7 separate regions of the Homo sapiens genome follow, and regions 2, 3, 4, 5, 6 and 7 are each linked to region 1. The links are contacts of gene promoters, found by promoter capture Hi-C in blood cells and fetal thymus (Javierre and others, 2016). All regions are on one chromosome and are shown on one strand. Each heading gives the region's core, a stretch centred on a gene start or on the middle of the fragment in contact. The rest is flanking DNA. Distances are from core to core; before and after follow the strand shown. Region 1 holds the start of SEC11C (SEC11 homolog C, signal peptidase complex subunit). Region 2 overlaps PMAIP1 (phorbol-12-myristate-13-acetate-induced protein 1). Region 3 overlaps ALPK2 (alpha kinase 2). Region 4 overlaps ALPK2 (alpha kinase 2). Region 5 overlaps ALPK2 (alpha kinase 2). Region 6 overlaps ALPK2 (alpha kinase 2). Region 7 overlaps ALPK2 (alpha kinase 2).

Evidence for each region. The method cuts DNA at HindIII sites, captures the fragments that hold promoters and counts their contacts. A CHiCAGO score of 5 or more calls a contact.
Region 2: a fragment that was not itself captured here is called in contact with the fragment with the promoter of SEC11C in region 1 in 2 of 17 cell types (non-activated CD4 T cells and total CD8 T cells); the score reaches 7.9 in non-activated CD4 T cells.
Region 3: a fragment that was not itself captured here is called in contact with the fragment with the promoter of SEC11C in region 1 in 5 of 17 cell types (naive CD4 T cells, naive CD8 T cells, total CD4 T cells and 2 more); the score reaches 7.7 in naive CD4 T cells.
Region 4: a fragment that was not itself captured here is called in contact with the fragment with the promoter of SEC11C in region 1 in 1 of 17 cell types (activated CD4 T cells); the score reaches 6.4 in activated CD4 T cells.
Region 5: a fragment that was not itself captured here is called in contact with the fragment with the promoter of SEC11C in region 1 in 1 of 17 cell types (naive CD4 T cells); the score reaches 5.6 in naive CD4 T cells.
Region 6: a contact is called between a fragment that was not itself captured here and the fragment with the promoter of SEC11C in region 1, in 1 of 17 cell types (monocytes). The highest score is 5.6, in monocytes.
Region 7: a fragment that was not itself captured here is called in contact with the fragment with the promoter of SEC11C in region 1 in 1 of 17 cell types (naive CD8 T cells); the score reaches 6.9 in naive CD8 T cells.

Annotation. Positions count from the first base shown.
Region 1 is chr18:59,138,389-59,141,327 of GRCh38, reverse strand. SEC11C (SEC11 homolog C, signal peptidase complex subunit) reads right to left here and starts at 1,444. Exons shown (of 6, transcript NM_033280.4): 1 at 1,293-1,444. The coding sequence starts at 1,379. RefSeq lists silencers at 1,405-1,544, 1,965-2,014 and enhancers at 1,585-1,684, 1,765-1,854. The HindIII fragment of the contact is 2,684 bases long and covers 1-2,356 here.
Region 2 is chr18:59,902,189-59,905,127 of GRCh38, reverse strand. It overlaps PMAIP1 (phorbol-12-myristate-13-acetate-induced protein 1), which reads right to left. Exons shown (of 2, transcript NM_021127.3): 2 at 823-2,481. The coding sequence ends at 2,375. Among named protein-coding and RNA genes, the nearest start is that of PMAIP1, 3.7 kb to the right of the region's middle. RefSeq lists an enhancer at 133-302. The HindIII fragment of the contact is 5,229 bases long and covers 1-2,939 here.
Region 3 is chr18:58,495,517-58,498,455 of GRCh38, reverse strand. ALPK2 (alpha kinase 2) reads left to right here. Exons shown (of 13, transcript NM_052947.4): 12 at 359-407. Among named protein-coding and RNA genes, the nearest start is that of MIR3591, 46 kb to the right of the region's middle. The HindIII fragment of the contact is 1,220 bases long and covers 761-1,980 here.
Region 4 is chr18:58,515,317-58,518,255 of GRCh38, reverse strand. ALPK2 (alpha kinase 2) reads left to right here. Exons shown (of 13, transcript NM_052947.4): 9 at 1,074-1,348. Among named protein-coding and RNA genes, the nearest start is that of ALPK2-AS1, 40 kb to the left of the region's middle. The HindIII fragment of the contact is 5,380 bases long and covers 1-2,939 here.
Region 5 is chr18:58,533,645-58,536,583 of GRCh38, reverse strand. ALPK2 (alpha kinase 2) reads left to right here. Exons shown (of 13, transcript NM_052947.4): 5 at 1-1,750. Among named protein-coding and RNA genes, the nearest start is that of ALPK2-AS1, 22 kb to the left of the region's middle. RefSeq lists enhancers at 645-844, 905-1,124, 43-1,242, 1,235-1,284, 1,385-1,784 and 1 more. The HindIII fragment of the contact is 8,331 bases long and covers 1-2,939 here.
Region 6 is chr18:58,566,547-58,569,485 of GRCh38, reverse strand. The region is part of intron 4 of ALPK2 (alpha kinase 2); the gene reads left to right. It overlaps ALPK2-AS1 (ALPK2 antisense RNA 1), which reads right to left. Exons shown (of 2, transcript NR_188108.1): 2 at 2,808-2,939. Among named protein-coding and RNA genes, the nearest start is that of ALPK2-AS1, 11 kb to the right of the region's middle. The HindIII fragment of the contact is 5,735 bases long and covers 1-2,939 here.
Region 7 is chr18:58,609,639-58,612,577 of GRCh38, reverse strand. It overlaps ALPK2 (alpha kinase 2), which reads left to right. Exons shown (of 13, transcript NM_052947.4): 2 at 761-889. The coding sequence starts at 781. Among named protein-coding and RNA genes, the nearest start is that of SNORA108, 10 kb to the right of the region's middle. RefSeq lists an enhancer at 233-1,103. The HindIII fragment of the contact is 8,099 bases long and covers 1-2,939 here.

The DNA of each region.
Region 1 (2,939 bases), core at 195-2,694:
TTTTTTAAGCTGGTGATAATCTCTACTACAACTCATCTTCCAGAAACAGGAGTCATCAGCTTTGCACACCTAGACACTACCACATCCTAAACACGGTTGATGAAATAGAAATTATCAAACTTTCCCACACTACTGCACTAGTCTGAAATTCTACTTGGGGAAGGGGGAGGAGAGTGAGAGGGGAAAAACACGTATGCCTAAAGGAGTAAGCTGTGACCTCCCATGGGCACCACCCCACATCTCAACATGATGGAGCAAATGAAACTGGATGCCATCAAAATAATGAGGATTAATACCATTTTCAAAGACAATCAAAACTCCCTGGTTGGAAGGTCCCATTTTTCTTAGCACAATTTATTAGTAGCAATAGTGGCATTAGTATCCACCGTGATATTCAGGTCCTACAGGTCCCCCAAATTCTCTACCTAGAAGCCTACATAGTCGTATTTTTCCTGACTGAGAGGGCTTCCTTTCCAATCCCTACTCACTCTTAACCTTATAGTGAAGAGATAAGGCCCCAAAGACAGTGATGATGGCCAATAAGTGGCTAAAAAGAGAGCAAGAGGAACGTTTTCCTCTGAGGTCCTCTCACAAAGGAGAGGGAATTCAACCACCCCAGCTGCCCAAAGACCCTACACTGCCTCCTATATTCAGAGTGCAGCCATCTCAGAAGTTAGAGAAGGCTTCTGGAATCTCGCTGGGAACACTGGTTGAGTCCACAATGATTGCGCACAGCTTGTGAGCTCTCTAGGCACAAGGAGCATTATTTAGTCCCGACCCACGGTCAGGGGAAAAACAACTGCCCAGGCTGGGAAGAAACTGCTTTGGGAGGCATCGCTGGACAGCTCCCGTTGTAGGAAAGTTCTTCCCTCTCGCCTGCCTTTCTGCCTCTTCCACCTGCCGGCAGTCAGGCCTCTGAAGCCCCACAGAGAAATCGGTTCCCTCTTCACCGGGTGGCCCTTCAAATACGCTCAGAGAGCTGTCGTTCACCGAGTCATCTCTCCCACAAGCGTGGCTGTGGCATTCTCAACCACATTTGACATTCCATGGCACGGGGTTTCTATTCTCCCCTTTCCTGCACCCTCCCCTAATTGTGCTCTTGTCAGGGCAAGGAAGTGCACACCCATGCCCACACGTAGGCGTAGAACCCAGGGCCTGAGAGCCCAGCGCGGGAGCTTCGGGTGGCCGCCCGGCCGCATTCACTGGGAGCCGGAGCCCTGACTGGGAAGCCCCGACTCCCCGCTAGCACAGGCGGTCCCGGCCACGGCGCGCTCACCACCCTCCTCCGTCACCTGGCGCTTGTTCATCTTCTTCAGGTCCCCGAAGATATCCAAGCCGGACGCGGGGAGATGAGCCCCCACGGCGCCCGCACGCACCATAGCAGGGTCTCCGGGGACCTAGCGGCCCGCCGGCTCTGGGTGGCACAGACGGCTGCGGAGCACCTGCCGGCCCCCGCCCACCGGCCCAGCGTCCTTGCGGCCACGTGACCGGCGACTCGCTTGGGCGTCTGGGAATCGTAGTCTCGCCAGTCTTGGGCACTGGCCAGCCAGGAATGAACCTGAAGGAAGAAAACTACCACTCCCAGAATGCTGCGGGGTGGGCACCTCGGCCAGTGAAGACCCGGGGCTCCTAGGGAGGGCAGCTACAGGGCTCCGGAGCCTTGTCCGACCCTTCGGAGGGAACATCGAGCAGCGAGTGACCCCGCATACCTCGGGGGGCAACTCGGGGAAGGGACTACTCAAGAGGAGCTGAATTTCCCGACTCTGGTCAGGCGCCAAGAGGACACCTAACTCCCGCTCGCAAATCACCTAGCCGTGTATCTTGGCTATTGGATGACTGCAGCGAGGAAAGGTGGTGCCTCTACGCTGGGGCGGGCTGAGCCGAATTGGGGCGGGGCCTAAAGATGGACTGCGGTGGGCGGGGCTTGGAAGAGGCGGGACTTTTGAGGCCGCTGAATTCTGCATTTTGAGTGGTACCACTTGTATGCAAGGAAGTATCTTTGAATGCCTTGACCATAATTGGGTTGCAATAGATATTAATTAAATGAATACATAACCACCTAATTTCATACACGAGAAAGCAAAGGCCCAGAAAGGTTCATTGACATGGCCAAGGTTAAGTGGAAATGAGTGGAATATAACTCAAAGTTTTAAATTTAGAAGTCCTAGATCATCACAGTTCTGATCCTAGATTACCTTTGGTTCATTCACTCACTCGTGTATGCATTATGCATTCTTTATTGTATTTATTTATCCACAAATCTTTATGGAGCACCTACCATGCACCTGGCCTTGTTCTAGGCACTTGAGAAACATCAGTTAACAAAACAAGCAAAGATTCTTGCCCTCATGAAGCTTATATTCTACCGAAGGCAGACATAATGGATAATTTATACGGTACCTAAAGGATGGAGGTGCTATGACAACAGGAAAAGCAGATAAGTTGAATGGGGAGGTCTGGGGGAAAGGATCAGGTTGCAATTTAAAATATACCAGAAGCTGACTTACCATGAAGCTAATGAAAGGTAAGTTCTGGGACCCTTCAATTGCAAAGGTGTTTTTCCAAGGTGTGGGAGAAACTTAACCATAGAATGTGTAAAACTTTCAAAAGCAAGATATTGCAATTGCTATTGGTTAAGAGTTCTGTTTCTTTGCATTCCAACTTCACCTCCATTACATTTCCCCTCCTGTTGGAGGGACAAGGAGAATTTTGGGGATCCAGCTAAGGAGGAAACGAGTTGGAGATACATTTGGTTTGAGTTTAGTGAATTTATTTATGTGGTTCATGGTCTTTCCTGCCATCCTCGTGTAAAAAATGGCTTCTGGGAATACTGCCATCCACTGGGCCAACTCACCTGGCACCGTGGCAGGAAGTCCCACTGGAAGTGGCATCTGATATGAAAGTGTTCTGCAGCACTTGACCTTGGAAATAAGTGGATG
Region 2 (2,939 bases), core at 180-2,679, 760 kb before region 1:
CATTCTAAGGTGTCAGCTGACTCTTTCCCTTGGCAGAGGTGGGGTGAAGATGTGGCTACCAGATTGAAGCTAAAAACTAGGGGTATCTTTTAGTTCTCACACTCAAACAGGAAGGCCATTGAGTTACACCTACTTTTGCACATGACTAACCTCAGATGAAGCAATCTTTGCTACTCTACGGCTGGAAGCAGAGGAAGAAGCGTGAGGTCACCAAAAAGGAAACTGCACTGCAGCTCCTCTTGCCAGACAGACCCAGGAGCAGTCAAGGATGCCAGCTCACAAAACACCTCTAATTAGATCATGAATCTGTATAGGCTGTAATCCCAGCACTTTGGGAGGCCGAGGCGGGCAGATGACTTGAGGCCAGGAGTTCAAGACCAGCCTGGCCAACATGGTGAAATCCCCGTCTCTACTAAAAACACAAAAATTACCCAGTGTGGTGGCGTGTGGGGGAGGCTTTAGCACGAGAATCACTTAGACCCAGGAGGCAGAGGTTGCAGTGAGCCAAAATTGTGCCAATGCACTCCAGCCTGGGCGACAGAGCAAGACTCTGTCTCAGAAAAAAAAAAAAAAAGGACCTATGTTGGGCATTCATTTCCTATTTTTCACTATTTCCCCTCCCAATTAAAGTGTAAGTCCCTTGAGAGCAGAAATCATGCAAACTCCCCTATATTTTCTACTCCAACTACTGGGAGGAGACAGTGTGGTCAGAAGGTCAGAGGATGTCTGCTGATGGAAATCAGTTAAAATACTTTGGCTTGATAATGAACACTTAGTAATTAGTAGCTTACAAGATGAAGACAAAATTAACACACAGAAAAGAACAGTGAAAACTTTTAATAGTTTACTGCCACAGTATCAACTTTTATATGTGTGCATATGTTTAAATACAAATTAGACCATAAATACCAGATGGTAAAATAGCTGCCTCTAGGCTGAAAAAAAAAACTCTCTACCACTAAATAAACAATCTTAAGTAATACTGAAGAAAACAGATGTGAGGTAATTTTCCATCTAAAGTGACTACAACCTACATTAAGACATTTTAACTAAAAATTCAAGTAGTTATAAGACTCTTGTAACTCAAAAATGTAACTTTAATACACATTTTCAAACTAAAGAAAAATACTTTAATTATAAATAGGCAAAATAAATAAAATTATTCCTGCTGAAATAAAATCAAGACATTATTTATTTGAGGACTGTATATAGCCCAGATAAAAAAAATGAAACTTACTTGAGACCCTACTAAGAAGCTATATAATACTCTAATACAAATTATCTATACAGATACCCATATAAGTATGTAAGTATGTGTATACATATATATTCACCAATGCATATATGGAACTTTCATTCTAGATGAGAACTAACTGTTCCTTTTTTTTAAGAAAAGTATATTCCAATTATGAAAATATTCTTAATTTACATTAAGAGATCACTTTTTGTAGGATGCACACTAATGTGACAAGGAGCATTTTCCGAACCTTTAGAAACTTCTTTAGAAACATTCATATCTTATCAAGTTACTTCTGAATATTTGTTCTACTAAGTTTCAAAAACATCAATTAAAAATTAACTTCTTTTTTCTTTTTATTATCCCTGGTTATACAAAATCCCCATGTTCTTTTATTATATTGAATGTTCAGTCTACTGATTTACTGGCCCCAAGTAACCCTCCTATACTTTATCCAATTTTTTCAAAGTTATTTTCCAGTTTTCCATAGTTTCTAGTAACGCCCAACAGGAACACATTGAATGAAAGATCATCTGAACAGAAGCAATACAATTTGAGTCAAAAGAAACAAATGATTTTACGTTGTGTAGTGACCGAAGAAATCAACACTGAGTATAACATTTCAGTGTTCTCAGAATGAGTTTTTTCATTATAACAAGGTAATATGTATAAACCGAATCATATACAATGTGCTGAGTTGGCACTGAAAAGCAAAACACCAAAAACAGCAACAACAACAATGCACTGAACTGTTTCTCCCCAGCCGCCCAGTCTAATCACAGGTCATCTCCCTTCACAGTAGGCCAGCGGTAATCTTCGGCAAAAACACTAGAACGATTCTCTAAGTAAAAAAGAAATGTGTCAATAATTACTTCTTTATTTTCAAGGGTCTTCCATTCTTGCTTTAAAATAAACAAAGTGGTTTTATAATGTTCTCTCATCCCAAAGAATGATAATCTGGGAAAACTTGAACAGAAATTCACTTTGATGTATTCCATCTTCCGTTTCCAAGGGCACCCATGAATGCACCTTCACATTCCTCTCAATTACAATGCAGTCTTTCTTCAAATTGATGAAACGTGCACCTCCTGAGAAAACTCTTTTGAAGGAGTCCCCTCATGCAAGTTTTTGATGCAGTCAGGTTCCTGAGCAGAAGAGTTTGGATATCAGATTCAGAAGTTTCTGCCGGAAGTTCAGTTTGTCTCCAAATCTCCTGAGTTGAGTAGCACACTCGACTTCCAGCTCTGAGAAGGAAAGCAAAACATGGACATGAACATTGATGATATTACAGACTGTAACCAGCAAAACCTAATACGCCCACACTAGTGACAAATTGAGTATCCCAGGAAGCATTTCTCTTAACTTTGGCTTTATGTGCACCTGTTTTCCAAATGTGACACACACACACACTTACACACATTGTGACTCACCGAAAGCAATCGTTAAGGTAAGAATAAAGACATTTACTTTGAGTTTTTAAAAAACGCATCCTGGATGAGGCAAGTGTTACCTTACTTTCAAATATGTCAAATACCACAAAGAGTAGCATTATCATTCTTTGGGATGTGAGAACATTGTAAAACCACTTTGTTTATTTTAAAAGCAATGCTACAAAGAGTAGCATAAGTCACCAGCCTTAGATGATGTCATCTTTTTCTCTTCATTTAAGGTTGGCTGGGAAACAGAAGTCAAGTTCTGTGTG
Region 3 (2,939 bases), core at 121-2,620, 640 kb after region 1:
GTCACCGTATTTCTGGGGAGATTGCTTACGGGACAAGCATCAGGCCTCAGATTTTCTCACAGAGTGGCCAGCTCCCTCCTTGTCATGGGGTGGGTGGGCCAGGCAGGCAGAGGACTTCATTTCCAGAGCCGAGAGGGCTTGGGTTGTCTGCTCACATGAGACTTGATTCCCCCTAACTGCCACCTTCCCCATGGTCCCTGCCTAAAGCTGGATGCGTATATGAAAGAGGCCTCGAGTGTTTATGCAGGAAGGAGAAGGAGGATGAGCTGTCATTACCCCTTCCCTGGGGCTAGATGGCCCAACTTCCTGAGGGGCCCTGAGTAACACAAACTCCCATCTTTGCTTTCTCTTCCTGTAGGTGTAGGAATGAAGCTAACTGACGTTGGCATAGCAACGCTGGCTAAAGGGTGAGTAGGAAAAAATGGAGTGTGCATCAATTAACACTGGGCTTACAGACACCTTCCAGGCAGACACTGTCAGGCTGAGGTGGGCAAAGTGAATTTCTTGTCCTAACTGTGGATGACGAATGTTCTTGGAATGAATTCATTTCTCTCACTTACATAAAATATTTATGGACTTTGTTCTCACAGGGGAGCACATTTGTTTCTTAACTTTGAAACAAATGAGAACTCTTGCAAACACATTTCAAGATTAATAACCAATAGGAGTACCACGGGGAGAAAATGCTGGCATTACTTGGATGCCTTTTAACTGGGAATATTCCGTTCTTTTACATTTAATATCTTCACTATTAAAAGCTTCTTTGAAAAAAAATTTTTTTTGCAATTGAATGCAGTGAATTCAATTTGTATATTTTAAATTAATTTTTCTCCAAAAAGTATTTTAGGCAGCTCACAGACCCCCATGATGATAATCATAGGAGGCAATGTCTCTGGCAGAGCTGTGATTAGTTACCTGTTTTTGATGATGGCTTTATTTTTCTAATACAGAGTGGTGCTTTGCTTAGTGTGAGGCACACACAGATGATGCTATGATCACATTTTACTGGGGCATCTTTTTAACAAGCTGCCCCTTCCCACTTCTTTACTTGACTGCCACTGAGGAGAAAGCCAGCCATTTGTTGTTCTTGGTGAAGATGCAATTCTGTGTTGGAACCACCATCGCCTTTGCCCACTCCTGCTCTTCCTACGTACTAAGACCATCTGTAAGGGGGAGGAAAAGAGAGCTCATGACTTTTGGAGGGGATGGCTTCTATTTCAAAATGTAGGTTTTATTAGTATGAGGTATCGTAAGGTCAACAGATCAGGAGATAGTTGCCATTGAAAAGCTAGTTTGTTACTTGCAGCTGCCAAGAGGGGGCACCAGGCCACCAGGGGCCATCTAAGAAGCAGCAGGGCCAGTTGGGAGGCAGAGGAAGTGAGGGGAAAATGCAGGCAAGAATATTATGGTTTATTCGGGAAGGAATAGGTGAGGGAGGATAAACAGTCCTAGGATTGGCTAATTTGACATTTTCCAGCAGTCTCTGGGACATAGGGCTGGCCCTAGTGTCTGGTACCTGCACTGGGGTGATTAGGGCAGGTGGACAGTGGCCCCAGTATGAGAGACCACAGAGGGGGTATTAGGGGTGTGGCTCTGGATTGGTTGGTTTGCATATATATGAAAGGCTCTCTGGAAGGTGATCATTTACTCTCTCTAGGAATATGGCAGCCCTGAGAGGAGTAAAGTCTCTCCAGGGCCAGTAAGGCACAAGATGTCAAAGCATCAGAAACACAGAAAATAAAGTGGTGGGATGAATCCAGCTTCCTTTCCCAAGGCTGAGAACAACTTATCCGTGGGAGCTTTCTGGTTACTTCAGACCATCAGTGTCAGCCACGATCCAACAAATATGCTAATTTTCAGCTTCAATAAAGGACAGAGAGAAGTAGAGGAATCTGAAAAAGTAGGAAGGGGATCGCTCTTTCTTTTAACCTCCAGGTCAGTAAGTCTGATTCATGAAGTTCTCGCCGATTGCACAAAGCTTCCAGTTGGGTTTTAGAACCAGAATGCGGTTTGGACCTTTTCCCTGGGATGGCTCAGTGATGATGAAGTTTTATGTTGGAACTGTCTCCAGGCTTCTCCCCTGTGCTCACCAGAGACCTGGCTGGCATACACTTCAGGGAATTGGGTATGTTCTTGGGCTTGTGAAGACAGCGCATTAGGAGGGATTATGATGTAGTGGGGAGGAAGGAACGAGGGATTTAGAGCGAGACCCAGTTCATACCCTGATGCTGCTGCTTCCATTTCTCCTGATAGTAGCCTCGCTTCTTGGCATCGTAGGAATTTGCCTAGCCTACCTGATGAGGGGGATGAACGTCTATTGCAGTTTCCCCATGATGGTACCATTTTATGCCTGATGTCCTCACATCCCATACGCTTTAGCATTGATCCTGAACAAGTGTACCCATTTAGAAGATAAATTATATGGTGCCCTATTTATGGAGGCTTCTGGACCCCAGAAGGATTTTCCAAACGGAGCCTTCCTTTCCAGGCTCCATGTGTTCTGCAGAACCTTGCAGATGCAAGCATCCGCCAGCCCTAGTTTGAATCCTGGCTTCTCGTCATACCAGCTGTGTGACTGTGGGCATGTGACTAAGTTCTTAAAGTCAGTGATGTACAGCATGGGGACACTCCGGCTTGCCCTGAGTATTCCCCCAGTTAATCTACACCTAGCCCCTGAAACTGGAAGTGAGCTAGATAAATATTAGTTTCCCTTCGCTCCTCATGTCTTAGCCTGACACCAGAGTAGGCAAATTTCGTGCTGTTATTTAGAACAACTCTCTACCAAAACAAAGAAGAAACCTGCCCAAGAAGTTTCAAAAATGAAGATGGTCATGATTATTGAAGACATCTTTTAAATTCAAGTCAACAGCTTCCAGGAACCCAGACCGACTGGGAGCTTCAAGTGGTACATTTTTTCCCCTCCTGATTTAAAAAGAAAT
Region 4 (2,939 bases), core at 226-2,725, 620 kb after region 1:
GTATGATTTTAAATATTTTGAAAAGAAGAGAAAAATATTTCCTGAAGCATGTATATAGAAATGTGAAGTAAGATTTTTCACACAACCCATGATCTCTTTCTTCTTGTAAACATTCAGAAAGATGTCAGTTTTCATCAGTTTTGAGAAGTGGAAAGGATTTAAAAATCCAAACAATCTTATTTCATTGAAAGCCACCTAATTTTCTTCTCTCAGTGAATGAGAAGTCTGATTGGGTCATCTCTAGTTTAAAGTGGACCTTCCTGATTAAATTCACTGTCATCTCAAACATGTGTAGAATCCACTCTGCAAAAAAAAACAGCTGTTAGAAAACTTAAAATAATTCTACTTTTCTTTTTACAAATAAATGCAAAATAATTCTACCTTTTTTTCGATTTCTCTTCAAAGGCAATTCTTTTTATTATTTTTTTGTTTTGTTTATTGCTACCTGTTTCCTATACTTATCACATGCTTTCTCAATGGAGGCAGTATTGCTACCAAGAGGACCAACATTGGTTCTTGGGAGGCAAAAAAAAAGTTACTCTTTTTCTGTATAAAGAACAAATATACATATGGTACATAAACAGATAGTATATTTGTGGTATTAAACTTTCATGGCAGGCAATTAAAACAAATTCCAGCAAAGATTCCGTGGTTGCGGGGGGTGGGGGGCAATAATGAAAGAAAGGTTGGTCCGATATTATCAGATCTTATCATTGGTCTTTCTTCCCTCCTCTACACTTTTCCCATCTTTTCAACTTGACTTTTGTTACTTTGCTTGGTTCCACTTATATTTTCCAGATCTGTCTAGAATTCTTTTCCTGATCTTTCCAGTTTTGCTCCAACCCATCCCTGATGTTCCCACATTCTCATTCAATGACCTGTCTCCTCCTCACCAAACCACTCATCTCTTCTTTTAGCTATGCCTCTTTTGAAGGGTTAAGTGTGTCTGCCCCCTCTTGGTTCTGCAGGTCAGCCTTGTCATTGTCCTTATGTGGGGACCCTCCCCATGTGGAGTTAGCCAAGGAGCAGGACTGGGAGGTATTCTTTCCAACCAAAGCTGTGCTGTGTTTCAGGATGTGAAGAGATTGAATTCAGCCAACTCATCTTCAAAGAAGACTTCCTCCATGACAGCTACTTTGGGGGCCGCCTGCGTGGTCAGATCGCCACGGAGGAGCTGCACTTTGGAGAAGGGGTTCACCGCAAAGCCTTCCGCAGCACAGTGATGCACGGCCTCATGCCTGTCTTCAAACCTGGCCATGCCTGTGTGCTTAAGGTGCACAATGCCATTGCCTATGGGACCAGAAATAATGATGAGCTCATCCAAAGGAACTACAAACTCGCTGCCCAGGTGGGTCCATCTGCCCAAAGGCTGTCACTTCTGGTGTGAGAACCACCCATGATAAGACGAGATGAAAATCAGACTCAGGATTGATGGGAATATCTTCAAAAGGGTGTTTTTCCTCTTTTGGGGTTTCAATTCAATCTCAATGCTGGGGATCACTTCTCAATTCTCGGGAGTAATTTCTTGGCCTTATGCCAGCTACTGGGGACTCAGCCAATGCCTAGAGACACCTCACCAGTTCTAACCCGAGATATAATTGATTTTGTTTCTAAGAAGCCCTATGACATCCCTGGCGGTTTGAGTCTACTTGGACCTAGGATGATATGGAAAGTGGGGGTTCTAAGCTACACTAGATGCCAGGGTCTCCAGGAACAGATAACATCAGCACTAGTTGCTGGAGTGTTTTGTTTGGTTTTGTTTTGTGGAGAGGGAGAGGGGTGGGGTATACCCAGAAGGGTCAGCATTGGTCTTGTTTTCTGCCTTCCTGAGTTTGGTTTAATGGTAGTGTATAAAATATAGGAAGAGAGACAGACCCAAGTCTCTAGCTGAGTTCCCACTTCTCTGTGTTATTGAGTCATAGAACTCGAGGTGAGAGGATAGGGCAGGAGAGCCTTAGCTTCTCTCGCTCCTTCCTCCTCCTATCCACATATTTGGTCCATATATTTCACTCCGTCTTTTTTTTTTTTTCTTTTTTGAGACAGTGTCTCACTCTTTCCCCCAGGCTGGAGTACAGTGGCATGATCACGGCTCCACAGCAGTCTCGGCCTCCTGGCCTTAAGCAACCCTCCTGCCTCAGCCTCCCAAGTAGCTAGGACTACAGGCGCATGCCATCACGCCCAACTAATTTTTATTTTTTTTTTCAGAGACAGGGTCTCCCTATGTTGCCCAGGCTGGTCTTGACCTCCTGGAGGGTTCCAAGTGATCCTCCTGCCTCTGCCTCCCAAAGTGCTGGGATTACAGGCATGAATCACCACACCTGGTCCACATATTTCACTGTTTACACCGGCACTGGTGTAGCTGTCAAGAAAGTTGGGTCTTTCACCAGCTCTGTGCCCCTTTAAAATGTTTACCATAAACATCTAAAACAATTAAAACATTTAAAATATTAAAATCCATAGGTTAAACTTAGATGAATCTCTCAGGTACAGTCAAGCATTAAGCATCGTGATCCTGCGGCACTGCCACGTGGGACTTTGTGCTTCTGAAGGCAGCCTTGCTCTCTGAATATAGTGTTCTGCCCATTGTATTCCTTTCTTCTCCCAATCCACTCTGCTTTTTTCTTTTCTCTCTCAGTATTCCCTCCATCTCAAATATGACACAGTCTTGGAAAACCTCCCAGCATCTGGATTCTTGCTCAGAAAAGCCCCACAGCATAGGATGCAGAATCCACTTAGCTTTTCCTAAGGCAGAAATCCTGTGCTGTTCATTATTGACTACTCCAATTACACCTTTGAAAAGGGTTTGCAATGGCAGATCTCACAGGAAACCCAGTAGTGCCCCAAGTGCCACCTGATGACGTGATGAGGGGCCAGTCCCCTTAGTTCTGGGGTGAATTTCGGCCCTGCCGGCTCGAGAAATTTTATAGTTCAGGGACACC
Region 5 (2,939 bases), core at 279-2,778, 600 kb after region 1:
GAAGAAGACAGTCAGGCTCTGAGCAACGTTCCATCTCTCTCTGATATCCTTTTGGAAGAGTCTAAAGAATATAGACCTGGAAATTGGGAGGCAGGCAACAAGCTGAAGATTATAACTCTAGAGGCTTCCGCTTCTGAAATCTGGCCACCACGACAACTGACAAATTCTGAGAGCAAGGCATCAGACGGTGGTCTCATAATTCCTGACAAGGTCTGGGCTGTACCTGATAGTCTAAAGGCAGATGCTGTTGTGCCTGAATTGGCCCCCTCTGAAATAGCAGCATTGGCTCACAGTCCAGAGGATGCTGAGTCAGCCCTTGCTGATAGCAGAGAAAGCCATAAAGGCGAAGAGCCCACCATCAGTGTACATTGGAGAAGTCTTTCTTCCCGGGGTTTCAGCCAACCCAGACTCCTGGAGTCATCCGTGGACCCTGTAGATGAAAAGGAGTTATCTGTCACAGATTCACTGTCAGCGGCTTCTGAAACTGGAGGGAAGGAAAATGTTAACAATGTGAGTCAAGACCAGGAGGAAAAACAACTCAAGATGGATCACACTGCCTTCTTTAAAAAGTTTCTGACCTGCCCTAAAATCCTAGAGTCCTCTGTAGATCCCATTGATGAGATAAGTGTGATAGAGTACACCAGGGCTGGAAAACCAGAGCCCTCTGAAACCACACCACAGGGCGCCAGAGAAGGGGGTCAATCAAATGACGGAAACATGGGCCACGAAGCGGAAATCCAGCCGGCCATTTTGCAAGTTCCATGTCTCCAGGGAACCATTCTGAGTGAAAATAGAATCAGCAGAAGCCAAGAAGGCAGTATGAAGCAGGAGGCTGAACAAATTCAACCTGAGGAGGCAAAAACTGCCATTTGGCAAGTCCTGCAACCCAGCGAAGGCGGTGAAAGAATTCCAAGTGGATGTAGCATAGGCCAAATACAAGAAAGCAGTGATGGGAGCTTAGGGGAGGCTGAGCAAAGCAAAAAGGACAAAGCAGAATTGATTTCCCCCACTTCACCTCTTTCTAGTTGTCTTCCAATAATGACTCACGCTTCTCTTGGGGTTGACACGCACAACTCCACAGGCCAAATTCATGACGTCCCTGAAAATGACATAGTTGAGCCCAGAAAGCGTCAGTATGTGTTTCCTGTTTCACAGAAAAGGGGAACTATTGAGAATGAGCGTGGGAAACCTTTGCCCTCTTCTCCTGATCTTACCAGGTTCCCTTGTACTTCATCTCCTGAAGGAAATGTCACAGACTTTTTGATAAGCCACAAAATGGAGGAACCTAAAATAGAGGTGCTTCAAATTGGGGAAACCAAACCCCCAAGCTCATCTAGCTCCTCAGCGAAGACCTTGGCATTTATTTCAGGAGAACGTGAGTTAGAGAAAGCCCCTAAATTACTGCAGGATCCATGTCAAAAGGGCACCCTGGGCTGTGCGAAAAAGTCCAGGGAGAGAGAGAAGTCCCTGGAAGCCCGAGCAGGCAAATCGCCAGGGACCCTCACAGCAGTGACGGGGTCAGAGGAGGTCAAGAGGAAGCCAGAAGCCCCAGGCAGTGGACATTTAGCTGAGGGAGTAAAGAAGAAAATTTTGTCCAGGGTGGCAGCACTGAGGCTGAAACTGGAAGAAAAGGAAAATATCAGAAAGAACTCAGCCTTTCTTAAAAAGATGCCCAAACTCGAAACATCATTATCACACACAGAAGAGAAACAAGACCCAAAAAAGCCATCTTGCAAAAGAGAAGGAAGAGGTGAGGTTCTGTTGCTGTCCATCATTGTTAAAGTTTGGGCTTGTAGACCAGGTATCCAGTTCCTGTGTCCTCGAGGGTCCTTTGCAATTAAGGCCAGTGTCCCCCAGGTGGGCATTGATGCTATGGTTGTGGCCAAGTGGCTTCAGCATGTGGCATCAGAATCACCTGGAGGACTTGTTAAAACCCAGATTGCTCCCCTCCCCCAGTGTGTGAAATTTGCACTTCTAACAAGTTCCCAGGTGATCTATCGGGAGAACCACGATTGAGAACCACTGATAAAGGCCGCCTGTAGGCATGTCTGTTGGAGGGGAATGTGATGAAGGTGCTTTTCCGTTTCATTATCCTCTTTTACAAAATCTATTTAAAAATATAAACAGAAGCATTAATCAGTGTAGCTAATTAGTATAATGAAATAGACCATGCACTAAGCAGGATTTGTGGAAATGAATATTTTGGTACAAATTGGGATTCTCCTCTTTAATCACTGATTTTTCATTAAAAATAACTTCCTTGAACCTTGGTTTTTTCTTCCAAATTTGAGTGTAACATTTCTTTTCAACTCACCCTTCCCATTTATCTAAATCTAAAATCCTCTGAGGTCTCTGTTCTAGGTTTCAGACCACTCAAGCCTCAAAAGTCCTTGATCAACCTCTACCTATGATGCTGTTAAAAAAAAAAAAAAAGTCCTGAAATTGCAGTTAATTCTACTTTGTCTGAGGAATCATTTCAGTCCCAAATTCCATTTATAGACCAAATTTTAGCCTGTTTTATTTCAGAGCTCTTCTTTCTCTCCCCACACACCCTGGTAGAAGTCAGAAGAGAAAATATTGCAGCAAGCTACAGTGGCCTGTGTGCTCTGGAGCGAAAAGCTACGGATGGCTGATCAGAAGGGAAGAATTTTCTCCTCTCTTAACCTGAGTCCTTAGATTTTGAGGCTGGCGTTTGTTATTCCCATCCCATCAAATGGGTCCTAACCCCTGTTGCAGAAAGGTTTAAAGACAAAACTGCCTTCTGAAGAGTTTGGAAGTATCCAATCAGGTTATTAGTATCTATATTTTAAAGCATATTTAAAGAGAATGGCTCGGCATTGTGGCTCACACCTGTAATCCCAGCAATTTGGGAGGCCGAGGTAGGAGGATTGCTTAAGCCCAGGAGTTTGAGACCAGCCTGAGCAACATGGCGAAACCCC
Region 6 (2,939 bases), core at 123-2,622, 570 kb after region 1:
CATACACACACTGAAGTTCCAATAGCCCCAGTCCACAGAGTATAGGATCCTTCTCAGATTAGAAAAGACCCCAAAGCCAAGCCCTCAACCCTAGCTATGCATGGAATCACCTGGGAGCTTTAGAACATTCAGCTGCCTGGGTTTTGCCCTCAGACATTCTGATGTGATTTGGTCTGCAGTGTGGGCGTTGGAAGCTCTAAAAGCTCCCAGGTGATTCTCTATACTTCCAAGGTTGAGAGCCTTGGCTGAGCTACACAATCATATGGAAACTTTTTCTCCCCCCCAAGACTGGGTCTCTGTCACCCAGGTTGGAGTGCAGTGGCCTGGTTACTGCTTACTACAGCCTGGACCTCAGGTGATCCTCCCACCTCAGGCTCACGAGCAGCTGAGACTACAGGCACATGCCACTACACCTGGCTAATTTTTCTATTTTTAGTAGAGATGGGGTTTTGCCATGTTGCCCAGGATGGTCTCGAACTCCTGGCCCCAAGTGATTCTCTTGCCTTGGCCTCCCAAAGTGCTGGGATTACAGGTGTGAGCCACTGTGCCCAGCCTGTAACTTCTAAATAGACTTGTCTCTTGGTATCTGTAGGGGATTGGTTCCAGGACCCCCCTCAGATACCAAAATCTGAGGATGCTCATGTCTCTGATATAAAATGGCATAGTATTTGCAAATAACTTATATACATCCTCCTGTTCACTTCAAATCATCTCCAATTACTTATAACACCTAATACAATGTAAATGCTACGTGAATAGTTGTTATACTCTATTGCTGAGAGTAACAATTTTAAAAGTCTGTACACATTCAGTAAAGATGCAATTTTTCCCCAAATCTCTTGGGTCCATGATTGGTTGAATCCACAAATTTAAAACCCACGGATACAGAGGCTAACTGTATACAGACATACAAGCCCCACCCCGGAGGTCCTTATTTCAATAGATCGAGGGTAGAGCTCAGGCGTGCGTGCCTTATGGAAGCTCCAGCTGACCCTGGGTAACTGAGGCACAGCTGTGGTTGAGAGTCCTGGAGCCCATATGGAGCTAAATCCTGGGGGGTTCCAAGTTCCACCTCCCCTGAGTAGGGCTGCAGAGAGCTAAAGGCTATACAGCTTGTGATGTACTTTCTTGGGGATTCGGGAGTCCTTGCCCGTGATTTCCCACAATCTTAGCCAAGGAACACAGCATCAGGTTATTCAATAGCACTTTTCAAACAGAGGCAATGGGTATTCTTCACACATAAGGCGTTCCTGTCCTAGTGCCATATATGCATCCCAGAAACACCTCACATTCTGAAAAATCACACCCTTAAAGTGTAAGGGCTTTGGGGAAAATTAGCATCCCCAAGAGGTCACTTAGGAAACAGACCATTTTGAAACCAGAAACTAATAAAATCAAAACATGTGCCCGGGAAACTCACTTGGACTGCCCAGGGAGGTGGCCCAGGCTGGCAGGAGGCCACCATGGCAGATATTAAAAACACACAACAGAGTGGAGATGCTGGAGATCTTTCAGATGGAGCCAGCTTGAGGGTGCGGAGACCTCAAAGACAGAAGTGGGTCTCTGAGCCAGCAAAGCTGCTGTTAAAGTGGGTCTGGGGGCGCCACTCAACCTGCCCTTAGACACACGGGCTTGGAGTTTGCTTCTTAGGAGAGAGGACCACTGAGGGCAGGCTGCATTTGAAATTCTGTTAAAATACAACTTAATAGGGCCCCTGCTGCCAATGCAGAGGCTGAGTCAAAGGCTTGTTTTCCTGCTCAATTTTCTGTAATTTATTCCAGCTATTCTGGTTCCCTTTGCCAAAGAAAAACTGCGTATGAACCAATGCCACGTGTTGGTTATACTGACATCATTCTCTTGTAGACCGATCTCACAGAGCTAACTCATTACAGAAACATGTCCTGGCAAACAGCCTGCACTAAGGATTTGGATGTCTCGTGTTCAGGTGGTTCTACTCTGCTTGGAGTCCCCAGGGCAGTGTCTTAAAGTGAGGGCCTGGACTATTTGCATTGGAATCACCTGATGAGGTGCGTGTTTAAAAAAACAACATAGGTCCCTAAGTTTTACCACAGACTTGCTGAACCTGCATTTTTATTAATTTTGAGGCAGAGTCTTGCTCTGTCACCCAGGCTGGACTGCAGTGGCGCAATCTCGGCTCACTGCAACCTCCGCCTCCCAGGTTCAAGCGATTCTCTTGTCTCAGCCTTCCGAGTAGTTGGGACCTCAGGGGCCTGCCATCACGCCCGGCCTTTTTTTTTTTTAAGTAGAGACAGGGTTTCGTCATGTTGGCCACACTGGTCTCGAACTCCTGACCTCAGGTGATCTGCCTGCTTCGGCCTCCCAAAGTGCTGGGATTATAGACATGAGCCACCGTGAAAAAATATGCAGGCCTGAACCTGCATTTTTAATATGCTGTCTGAGAAATAAATGCAGGCCTGAACCTGCATTTTTAATATGCTGTCTGAGAAATAAATGCAGGCCTGAACCTGCATTTTTAATATGCGGTCTGAGGATTCTCTTGGGCATTAAAGTTTGGAAACCATGGGCTCAGTTAGATGGATCTAGAGAGAGAATACTACAACTTTTAGAGGCATTTCTGTAAAGACTCACAGGAGTTTGGAAACAACAAGAAATTTAGGCTCCTCAAGTGTAACCTCCTTTGCCCTAAGAGGAAAAACAAAAACTCGTGACTGGAATTTTCTTCTGCTTTCTAGTTGGCTTGCTATAAACGCAGCTTGTTCTTCACCTGTCTGGGGAACTGAAATAAGTACAGATCCTGATTTATTGTAACTAATCCAAAACAGGTGTGCATTTTACAGCTGTGTTTTATTTTGAGGAGTAGTTCAGTGGCAGGAATTTGGGTGGCAGCAGGGGAGGCTGGTGAGAGGAGGGTCACTTGGCAATAAGGTGGGTTTTAGTCTCTGTAACAAATCTACTGC
Region 7 (2,939 bases), core at 239-2,738, 530 kb after region 1:
GTGTGATCTTGAGCAAGTTGTTGAACCTCTCTGAGTCTCAGGTTCCACCTCTGTAAAATGTAGGAGACATTAGTAACTATCCTTTAAGTAGCTTCAAAGAGATTAAGTGAAATAATATATCTGGTGACTAATCAAGTGTTTAGTGCCTGCCTTCCCCTAGGGCACCCACCTGGTGCTCAGAAGGAGCAGTCATATCCTAATTTCAAAATATCTCCTCCCTGGACATCATTTCAACACAACTGACATGTTTTTTGGAGGCAAAGACATATGCACACTTTTTTGAGCACAGTGTGAAAAGACTTTAAGAAGAGAAAGGAGGAGGAATGAGAGGAGGTGGCACTAACCATAGCCTCATGGGATGCTTCCCTCTCCATTGGAACTCTGGGTGCTCTGGGGTCTGCCTAGGACAATAGGATTCGTGGTTCTTAATCAGGGCACCCCCCCATTCCCCTGCAGTGTCTGCAGACATTTTTGATTGTCACACATGGAGGGGTGGGGGTGCTATTGGCATCTGGTGGGTAGAGGCCAGGCATGCGGCTAAATATCCTGCAATGCACAGGACATCCCCGAAATACAGAAGGATCCAGCCCACCTACCAGCAGCACCACGGCCTGGAAAGGCTGCCCAAAGACCTTCAGTCTGCCCACCCTCCAGCGTGCAGTGAGCTGCCAGGGCGGCACCCTGTGGTTTCTGGAATTCCTAAGAAGGCCAGAGAAATCCCAGAACAAATGGTGATGTCGGGGATTTTTTTTTTTTTCAGATTTGGTGCGGCATGAAAGGATGAAAGACTCCGAAGGGCCCCAGAGGCCCCCGCTGTGTTTTTTATCTACATTGCTTTCCCAGAAGGTTCCTGAGAAGTCAGACGCTGTGCTTCGCTGCATAATATCTGGTAACCATCACTAGACTAGCTAATCACCCTCTAAAATCTCCCTGCATACCAGGTTTCTTGGCTCACAAAGGCATTACTAAAACATCATTTGGGAAAATTACCTTGGAAGTTTTTTTTTCTGTGTAATCAATGAAGCAACTCCATCCTCTATGATTTGTTTCTAAAAGATTTCTTTGAGTGACTTCCTGGACACGATTTAGTGATCTTTACTTCACCTTGTGGTTCTGGGTTAGGCAGCTCTCACACTGGTTATTTTTTTCAGATAATCCACTCTTAATTTTCTTTCTTTCTTGGGTGTCCTTAACCATAGTTTAAATTCATGGAGCACAGAGGAATGGCATGAATCACTTTTTTTCGGTAAATTGATGGAACTCTTCTGTTATTCTTTAATTGACTTTTTTTTTTTTTTTTGAGATGGAGTCTTTCTCTGTCACCCAGGCTGGAGTGCAGTGGTGTGATCTCGGCTCACTGCCACCCCCGCCTCCTGGGTTCAAACTATTCTCCTGCCTCAGCCTCCCGAGTAGCTGGGAATAGAGGCACGCACCACTGTACCTGGCTAATTTTTTTATTTTTATTTTTATTGTTTTTTTTTTTTTGAGACAGAGTCTTGCTCTGTTGCCAGGCTGGAGTGCAATGGCACGATCTCAGCTCACTGCAACCTCCGCCTCTTGGTTTCAAGCAATTCTCCCACCTCAGCCTCCCAAGTAGCTGAGATTACAGGCACCCGCCACTACACCCGGCTAATTTTTGTATTTTAGTAGAGATGGGGTTTCACCATGTTGGTCAGGCTGGTCTTGAACTCCTGACCTCAGGTGGTCTGCCTGCCTCGGCCTCCCAAAGTGCTGGGATTACAGGCGTGAGCCACTGCGGCTGGCTCGCCTGGCTAATTTTTATATTTTTAATAGGGACGGGGGGAGGGGGGTGGTTCACCATGTTGGCCAGGATGGTCTCCATCTCTTGACCTCATGATCTGCCTGCCTTGGTCTCCCAAAGTGCTGGAATTACAGGCGTGAGCCACCGCGCCTGGCCCTAATTGATATCTTAAAACTGGCTAAATTAGTCTCTCCTCTGCACGCCTTCTTCAGGGATGCTAATAAGAAGTGAAAATCTTAAAACAGAGGCAATGGGTGACCAGTGGAGAAAAAACAGGGGACTGGGATTCTGGATTGGTGAATAAATAACTCAGAATTGATCAAGTATGGGTACTCCCAATGGTAAAAGGATTTATCATTAAAAGAACATAAACATAAAACAATTGGGTAGGGAAGTGATATCTTGTACCTCATGGGTGGTTCTCTTTTCTTTTTTGGATTATGTCTCTACCCTTGAAAACATGAAGGTGCCAATGGTGTTTCTTGAGGGCAGACAGAAAACTCTTCTCCCCTTGCTCTTTTTTTTTTTTTTTTTTTTTTTGAGACAGGGTCTCTTGCTCTGTTGCCCAGGCTGGAGTGCAGTGGCACAATCTCAGCTCTCTGCAACCTCCACCTCCCAGGTTCAAGCAATTCTCATGCCTCAGCCTCCCAAGTGGCTGGGATTCCAGATGCACACCACCATGCCCAGCTCATTTTTGTATTTTTAGTAGAATGGGGTTTCGCTATGTCGGCCAGGTTGGTCTCTGATCCCATTTTTCTAAGTCCAGAGAGGAGAGGGGTGAGCCTCAGAAACGGCTGCCTTTCGCTAGCAGAAGTTGTCATAAAACCTCGATTTCAGCCTGGAGTTGCAGTGTAGAACTGTGCGCTCAGCCTCTCCAAGCCCAGGCTTCTGTCTCCGTGATGGTCCATCGTCATTCAGACAGACAGAACAGTGCAAGCTGACCTTGAGTCTTCAGAGCAGAGCCCTCGTGTGTTTGGACATGCCCTGAACTTGGCTGTGGTCCCCTCGCCCAGATACTTCTGAAATGTTTAGGAGGTGGCTCTCAATGTATGACCCACAGTAGGTTCCAAAAACAAGGGGAGGACTTTCAGGTGAGGTTTCCAGCAAGTGGCAGGAGAAAAGAGAACCACCCACAAGATACCAGATACCACTTCCCTATGCAAGTCTCATTTCTGGC